Linked DNA regions of Homo sapiens: region 2 is linked to region 1. The links are contacts of gene promoters, found by promoter capture Hi-C in human tissues and cell types (Jung and others, 2019). All regions are on one chromosome and are shown on one strand. The core of a region is centred on a gene start or on the middle of the fragment in contact, and the rest is flanking DNA. Distances in the headings are between cores, read along the strand shown. Region 1 holds the start of RBP1 (retinol binding protein 1). Region 2 has its middle 11 kb from the start of CLSTN2.

Region 1 (4,374 bases), core at 1,328-3,827:
ATAAAGGTTCGATGTGATCTGTGAGTTCCACAATAGTGAGTGGGGGTAAGGATTATTCTTAAGGAGCAAAGTTCCATGCAGTGTGCCGGGGAGCAGGTCTTGGGCAGTAATGAGAAAGGCAGATGCCATCTGAAGGTCTCCTTTCCTATTGTGAGTCTTTCCTGCAGATTAAGAGTCCTTGAGATTTTTAAAGGCACAACCTGACATTTCTCTGCAACAATGGTGTTTTCTCCCATTAGTGGTCCTTCCAAGGCCACTCCCTGCTGACTACCCCCTCTTTCCCATCATTCCAAACAGCAGACTCAGATACCAATCCTGACTGCCTTCAGATGAATAGACAAGGTGGGGGGATGAGTCATCCAGGCTCCAGATGCCTATTCCCAGACATGGGCATCCCTTCAACTACAATCCTAACAGACCTCAGCTATCTTGTTTCTGCACAGACTACCAGCAGAGAAGCTGGCAGAAAGCAGGACTGTGGGCTTCAACATCAGAAGGCCCAGGGCTCAAGTCTCATCTCTTACAAGTCTCTTCCTCTGTCTGAGCCTCAGTCACTGCATAACATGGGGTTACTTATCCCTCCCTCACTGTGCTGTGCTGTAAGATGACTAGCACAGTGCTGGACACACAGCAGACCAGCGGTAAAGACCCTTGGTAAATGGTGGGAGGTGGTGGGTGAGGACCCCATCAATAAGCAAGGTGGCTCCTGGGATGAACATAAGCCACTTCTGAACCCAAGACTATAAAGGGAGAACAAGAGTACCTTGACCTCCCAGCAACCAGATAATGTTGATGGAGGCCTGGGGCTGGCCTTCCGGCATCTGCTGTGGCAGTACTAATTGGGATGTCCTGGGTCAGGAGTTTCCCACCCTTGTGGAAGGGAGCTCTTGGCCCTCCCTCTTCCCCCACTGCTGTTTCCTCTGGTCTGGGCTGGAGGGGCCCTGACTTACTGAATAGGTGTCAGCTGCAAAGTTCAAAGAATGCTCAGTAGGCATTGGATGACAGGGTGGGGCAGGGGATGGCCAGGAGCCAAATCCCAGCTCTGGGGCAAGGATGGGCAGATCAGGGGGCTTCCAGCAGAGATCAAGGGGCCCCCAGCTTCCTGGAGTGACTTCACACTAAGTCATACTGAAAGTTTACACTTCAAAGGGGTTACCTGTGTTTCTTTTTTCTTTCCTCCTTTCTTTTCTTTTACCCTCCACCAGCCCAGTCAGCCAGAGAACGGCATCAACAGACATGCTTTGAACTCCAGACCCTCCCTAGCTGTGCTACTCTGGACATGTTACTTCATCTCTTTGAGACTGTTTCTTCATCTGTAAAATGGGCATATTCATATCTCCCTCAAAGGCTGTGTGAGGCTTAGGTGAAGTCATGTGCATAAAGCACCGGGCAGAGTGCCTGAACGCAGTGGAGACACAGCACATGGCAGCCTTCATAACCATCACCTTCCAGTGTAGATAGAGCAGGATGCTTCATGAGTTGGTGCTGCCCACCATGGGGGCTGAGAGTGGGAAGAGTTTTCAGTCCCTCAGGCCCTTGCCCCCTCTCGGATGAACTAGCCCAGCCCTTGGTCAGGCCCCCTGGGCAGGAGACACCAGGTGGACGCGAATCCTCACCATGCACTTGCGGTCATCTATGCCTGTCAGATCCTCCTCAAACTCCTTCCCAACCTGGAAGTCCATGATGTAGTTCCTAAAAGTGCTCAGCGTGCGGATGATCATATGGTCACCGTCCTGCACGATCTCTTTGTCTGGCTTCAGCAAGTTGGCGATTTTGCGCAAGGCCACATTGACGTCTGCGGTGGGGGTTGAACGGGGAGAGAGAGAGCGCCAGAGAGTTGGCAGGGAAACTCAGAGAACCGTTCCCAAGGTAGCGGGGCCCCAGGAGCCCTCTCCGCCCGCGAACACTGTTAGGGTTCCCGCTGGCTTTGCGTTGTCTCTGCGCACAGCCTGCCTGTGCCTCCCCTGCCGCCCCCAACAAAGTTTTCTGCTCTTATGTTAACCGTTTAAAAACAAAAAGTAGCAAACCAAGCCCCAGATTTACTAATGAAATTACCCACCTCCAGGGCCAACGAGCAGACATTTGCCACCGGTTAACCTAACAACCCCGAATTCTCCAATCTGCAGCCTGGGGGCTGCCCTGGGAGCGGTGGCCGAGGACGCCCTTTCTGGCGTCCGGGGGCACCGGACCGCGGCTCGCCGGGATGGAGGCAGGCAGGCAGCGTCTCGGGAGGGCTCTAGGGAGCGGCCCGGAGCTGCTCGGCGGGGCGCCCAGGGCGCAGCGGGCAGCGCTTACCGAGGGCGCGCAGGTACTCCTCGAAATTCTCGTTGACCAACATCTTCCAGTACCCAGTGAAGTCGACTGGCATTTCGGGGAGTGACTGGAGCCAGTTGGCCACAAGCGGGCGGGACGGCTGGAGACTGCCGGGACAGCGGCTGCCGGTGCTACGCGGGTGGTGGGCGGCCCGGAAATGAGCGCCCTCCGGGGACAGGGGGCTCTGCGGGGCGGCGACAGCTGGATTCCCAGCGCGCACAAAGCCTGCGGGAGGATCCATTGTAGCGGTCGCTCCTCCCCGCTTAGCGAGGGCGGGCGCAGGGGCGGGGGATGTCGAAGGGTCAGGTTTGTCCAGGCCGCGCCACCTTCGTTTCAGACGTTCAGTTCGTTTCCCCTACAAAGGAAGAGGAGACCGGAGACGGGACGTTTGCTTTGTTGGCCGAACTCTTCGGCTGCTGGGGATTTCCTTCAAACGCCATTAACTTCTCACACTCAGCAGCCACTCGGGAGTTGGGAAACAATCTCCTGGGGTTTGTGCTGGCGTGATTAAGGAAAGAGGCCACTTACAGGCCTTTGTCTAAAGCCTCGCGCCGGTGGTGGCTGGGGTCAGGAAAGCTGGGAGGTTCAACTACGGGCGAGAAAATTGGGGCACTTTCCACGTCTCTCCCGAAAATAAAAGAAAGGATGCCGGGCACGGCGGCTCACGCCTGTAATCCCAGCACTTTGGGAGGCCGAGGCGGGCGGATCACCTGAGGTCAGGAATTCGACACCAGCCTGGGCAACACGGTAAAACCTCGTCTCTACTAAAAATACAAAAAATTAGCCGGGCGTGGTCGCGGGCGCCTGTAGTCCCAACTACTCGGGAGGCTGAGGCAGGAGAATAGCTTGAACCCGGGAGGAGGAGGTTGTAGTGAGCCGAGATCGTGCCACTACACTCCAGCCTGGGCGACAGAGTGAGACTCTGGCTCAATAAATAAATAAATAAATAAGTAAAATAGTTGATGTTATTTGAAGTGCATGTGGCTAAAAAAGCCTTCTGGGTGATTCTGATGCACAATCAACTTTGAGATCCACTGCTGCTTTATGCAAATGTAAGCAATATACTGTTTATTAATGTTTCCTCCCGTTTCACCTAATGGCAGCACTGTACTCCACGGTGTTCTGGACTTTGCTTTATTCACTTAATATATTCTGGAGACTTTTCCATAGCTGTACATAGAAAGTATCCCCATTATTTTACGGAGTATTCCATTGCTTATCCAGCTTGTCCCCTGATGGACAAACTATATTGTTTCTGATCTTTCACTATTAAAAGCAGTACTGCAATGAAAATCTTTGATCACATCTCCTTTGTCACCTGCGTGGGTATGTCATTGTGGTTTAACTGCATTTGCCACCAAGTAGATGACATAATCACATGGGCTGACTTTTTGACCCTCTTTTTGACTACCTCTTTTAAATCGCTTTTTGCACAAATCACAGCCTAAGTGACAGCAGATAACATTTTCTTCCCCTCTAGCACCACCTTCCCCAGGGTGCCTCCCTGGGGCTCACATGTGTTCTCACAGTGCAGGCTGAATTAGGAAAAGGAGCCTCTTCCTCAGGGTAGAGACAGCTTCCTCCCAGGCAGCAACTTGGATTTCAGCGCTTCTCACCCTCTTTCCCTAGACTAGGATTTGTTTCTTAATCTCTGTGCTACTGACATTCTAGGCCACATAAGTCTTTGTTACAGGAGCCTGTCCTGTGTACTGTAGGATATTTAGTGGCATCCCTGGCCTCTACCCATTAGATCCCAGTGGCACCCAGACACAAAGATGTCGCCAGACATTGTCAAAGGCACTGGGGTGTGGGTGCTGGGTAAACCAGCCCTGGTTGAGAGCCAGCTCTAGGCCCTTGTTTCCCACTGCTTCTTTGTCTGGCTCTGGATGGTTAGGTCATCAGTTGTTCACACAAGCACTGGCTCTGTGTCCCTCCCTAGCCAGCCCAGGGCTCATCTTGGCTGGGCACTCAGGGCAACCTATCCCAGTCCTTCCAACCTGAAGGTGCAATAAGACACCTCGCAAGGATGGATGGGGCCTGGCCCAGGTTCTGTAAGGCATC
Region 2 (4,374 bases), core at 602-3,101, 380 kb after region 1:
TTAAACCACTGGCCTGAATTTTACATACTTATTTGGATCTATTTTACAATTCAAAATGTATCTCTTTAGCTACATCAAGTTTGTTGATTATGTTACTCATTTTGGTTTTTTAGTCAAATATATTTATTGTATATTTTTTATTTCTAAAGTTGAATTTGTTTTTTTTCCAAAATCTTCTTGTTCATATATGATCCCTTCTATTCTATTGATCTTTCTAAGCTTGTCTTTTATTTCTTTAGATATATCTTCAACATAATTTAGACTTTTATGTCTGTAAATTCCAATACCTGGTGCTTTTGTGTATGTTTCTGTTGTCTCCTCTTTCTGCCTGTTTGTGTTCATGTAAGTGTACATAGTATTTTGTGCTACTTGTTTTATCTCACCCTTTACCTGTGGCGATTCTTTGATGCCTAGGTAAAGTTTTATTCCTCAGTGCACACAGTTGCTTCTGCCACCTGTAGGTGCTACCATTTTGGGACCTTCATTTTTACTTTCTGCATAGTAGGGTGACTATAGTTAACATAGTTAACAACAATGTATTGTATATTTCAAAATAGGTGGAAGAGAGGATTTGAAATCTTCCCAACACAGAACTAATAAATGCTCACTGTGCTGGATATCTTAAATATTCTAATTTGACTATTACATGTTCTATGCATGTAACAAAATATCACATGTACCCCAGAAATATGTACAAACATTATGTGCCAATTAAAAAACCACAAACGGCAAAACCAGCTTTGGTGCTCACACACTTCCCGGTGTTTCCGGTTTCACTTAATTTTAGATTTTGCGGAATCCTTATTTTTGCATCAGCTCAGGAATGTGTTTAAAACTTCTCTATTTTGTCCATTATTTTAATATCTAATCTATCACTCTGTTGAAACAGAAAATTTCCAACTTTTATTTTATGTTTGTCATTATGTATTTTGGTTTCCCCATGTGATGGGAGAATTTCTATTTCATTAAATTTAATTTAGTTTTATTCTATTTGATTTAATTTAATATTCCATTAAATATATATCATAATTTATAAACTTATCTTCTGTTAAAGGTTTATATTTTATATTTTCATAATTATGAAAAATGCTGCAACAAACATTTACATATGTTTTCATGTGCATGGGTATATTTTAAATATGTATAACTAGTAGTTATGGCTAGATGTTATGGGTAACATTTTGTCCTCCAAAAACTAGTACCTCAGAATATGACCTTATTTGGAAATACAGTTGTCACACAGTATCCATGGGTGATTGGTTCCAGGACTCCTCATGGATGCCAGAAATCCATGGATGCTCAAGTCCCTTATATAAAATGGCATAGTGTTTGTGCCTATCCTACGTATGTCCTTCCATGTACCTTAAATCATCTCTAGAGTACAGTGAAATAAAATGTTATGTAGTTCATTGTTACACTGTATTGTTTAGAAAATGATGACAAGGGCTGGGTGCAGAGGCTTATGCCTGTAATCCCAGGACTTTGGGAGGCCGAGGTGGGCAGATCACCTGAGGTCAGGAGTTCGAGACCAGCCTGGCCAACATGGTGAAATCCCATCTCTACTAAAAATACAAAAATTAGCTGGGCATGGTGGCCCGTGCCTGTAATCCCAGTTACTTGGGAGGCTGAGACAGGAGAATTGCTTGAACCCGGGAGGTGGAGGTTGCAGTGAGCCGAGAACACGCCATTGCACTGCAGTCTGGCACGAACAGTGAAACTCCATCTCAAAAAAAGAAAAGAAAAGAAAAGAATGACAAGAAAAAACATCTATCCGTGTTTACTACAGATGCTTTTTTTTTTTCTTTCAAATATTTCAATTAGCTGTTGGTTGAATCCACAGACGTGGAACCTACAGCCCCCACAGCTATTGAGGGCTGACTGCAGTCATTGCAGATGTATTTAGTTCAGTTAAGATGAGGTCACATTGAAGTAGGGTGGCTCCTAATCTCATATGACTGGTGTTTGTCTAAGAAGATGGCAGTGTAAAGATACAGAGACACAAGGAGAATGCAATGTGAAGATTGAGGTGGAGATTATGCTGCCTCCAGCCCGCAAACATCCAGAGCTACTAAAAGCCAGAAAAGGCAAGGAAGGGTCTTCCTCTAGAGGCTTCGGAAGGCACCACACAACTGACATCTTGAATTTGGACATCTAGCCTCCCGAACTGTGACAGAATAAATTTCTATTGTTTAAACCAGCTGGTTGGTGGTGGTGCTTTGTTACGGCAGCACTAGGAAATTAATATACTAGGTTGCAGAGTATGTGCATATTCAGTTTTAGTAGATTCTATCTCATGCTGTCTAAAGTGGTTGTACCAATTATATTTCCATTAGCAGTGTATAAATAGTCCCATTGCTCCTTATTCTCGCTAATATATAGTATTATTAGACTTTTAAAACTTTTCTAATTTGTTAAGTGTGAAATAGTATTTTGCTGTTATTTTTAACTTTTATTTCCCCAATGACCTATAATATTGAACATTTTTTTCTTGTGCATTTTCCTATCAGACTTATTTTTTATGGATTGCCAGTTTATAAATTTCCCCTTTTTTCTTAATTGTTTATTGTTACTGATTCGTAGAAATTCTTCATATATGTGAGACCAATCCTTTGTTAGTTACAAGAGTCACAGATATCAATCTTCACCTCATGGCTTTCTATTTCCCTTTATTTTTGGTGTCTTTTGATGAACAAAATTTCTTAATTTTGATGTGTTGAATATATCAATACTTTTCTTCATGATTTGTGCCTTTTGTGTTTAAGAAATTCTTTCTTACTTTTAAGTCATACAAATATTCTACTAATATTTTTTCTAAAACTTATAATTTTGTATTTTTCAGATTAAGCCATTGTTCCATTGAAATGATTTTATTACCATTGATAGAGTAGTCCATCTTTTCCTTCATTGACTTCTAAGCATACATTAAGTATTTATACAAGTATGTTTCTATTTCCAAGTTATCTATTCTGTTCCATTTCTCTATTTTTCTATTGCTTTAGCAATATCACACAATCCTAAGAACTATTGTTGTTCATTTTATGACTTTTTGTCTGGGATACTCAACAGAAAATTCCCCAGACTTTCTTATTTTCTAAGATAAGCATTAAAGGCTATTATTTCTAAATTCCATTCAGCTTCATTCTGTAAGTGTTGATATGTAGTATTTTCACTGTTGTTCAGTTCTAAATGTTTTCTAATTTGTATTTTTACTTTCTCTTTTATCTATTGGCCATGTAGAAGATTTTCCCCTCAATTTCCAAATATGTGCATATTAAAAATTGTTATTAATTGTATTTTGGTATAATAGTAACAAAAATATTGTCTACATAATAGAGATTCCTTAGTATTTGTTGAGATGTACTTTATAAATAGCTAACTTGTGCCTGAAGATAAATTGTTTCCTTTAATTGTTAATTGCTAGGTTTAAATTTGTCCATTTGAGCAGTTGTTAATAGTGTTGTTCAAATTGTCTCTATTGTTACTAACGTTTATTGTTTTGGTCCATACATTGCAAAATGAAGTACATTAACATCTTTTATTATGACTGTGAATTTGTGAGTCTTTTATTCTGTAAATTTTTGCTTTTCTGTATATTTTGAGATTATGTTACTAAGTGCATGGAGGATTAGAACTGTTATGTCTTTCTGACAAATTGAACATTTTACCTTTATATAGTGATCCTCATTAATTTTAGAACTTTTTTGCCTTAAATTTTATTTTATGTGAAAATAAAAAGCAACACTTATGATCTATATATATGTATACACACACACATATATGTGTATACACAATATAATACATATGTAAATATATATGCATACTCACATATACATTGTACATTTCAACTTTTCTGTGTACTTATATTTTCAGTGTGCCAATTGCAAACATATGATAGCATTAAAATATATCTAACTTCAGAATCTCTATTATTAATACATAAGTCTAATCCTTCCCTTTTTAGTGTGGTACATAGGAACTTATCATATCAATTTATTTTGTTCTAATAAACCTGCTTTTCTATTCTTCACGTTTTATTCCTTTACTATCATTTATTGGATGGGTTTCCTTTCATTCCCCTCTTCTTCTTGATTTTTTGGAAACTATTTGTTCTCTATCTAATCTTTAACTGTTCACCCTTAAAATCTTGACAAGAACACTTGCATGAGAAAAGTCTGAAAGTATTCTATATCTTTACTCTCCTTTTGAACAATATATGGAACCTAGGATATTTTAATCTTGATCCCTCTATTTTAGTTTTCATGTTACTTTTGTCTAGTATTTTGTTCCTATTTTGCTTACATCCCATGCAAATTACTCATTATTTAACTCTTATTTTAATTTTGTTTAAATCTTGTTTAGATCAATATATCTTTG

The links. The method cuts DNA at HindIII sites, captures the fragments that hold promoters and counts their contacts. A contact is called where the count stands out against the background at its distance.
Region 2: a fragment that was not itself captured here is called in contact with the fragment with the promoter of RBP1 in region 1 in 1 of the 25 tissues and cell types used here (dorsolateral prefrontal cortex).

Annotation. Positions count from the first base shown.
Region 1 is chr3:139,537,165-139,541,538 of GRCh38, forward strand. RBP1 (retinol binding protein 1) reads right to left here and starts at 2,578. Exons shown (of 4, transcript NM_002899.5): 1 at 2,296-2,578; 2 at 1,617-1,795. The coding sequence starts at 2,554. All of the region lies in intron 3 of COPB2-DT (COPB2 divergent transcript), which reads left to right. RefSeq lists an enhancer at 454-1,653. The HindIII fragment of the contact is 8,428 bases long and covers 1-4,374 here.
Region 2 is chr3:139,921,680-139,926,053 of GRCh38, forward strand. No RefSeq gene overlaps it. Among named protein-coding and RNA genes, the nearest start is that of CLSTN2, 11 kb to the right of the region's middle. The HindIII fragment of the contact is 5,320 bases long and covers 1-4,374 here.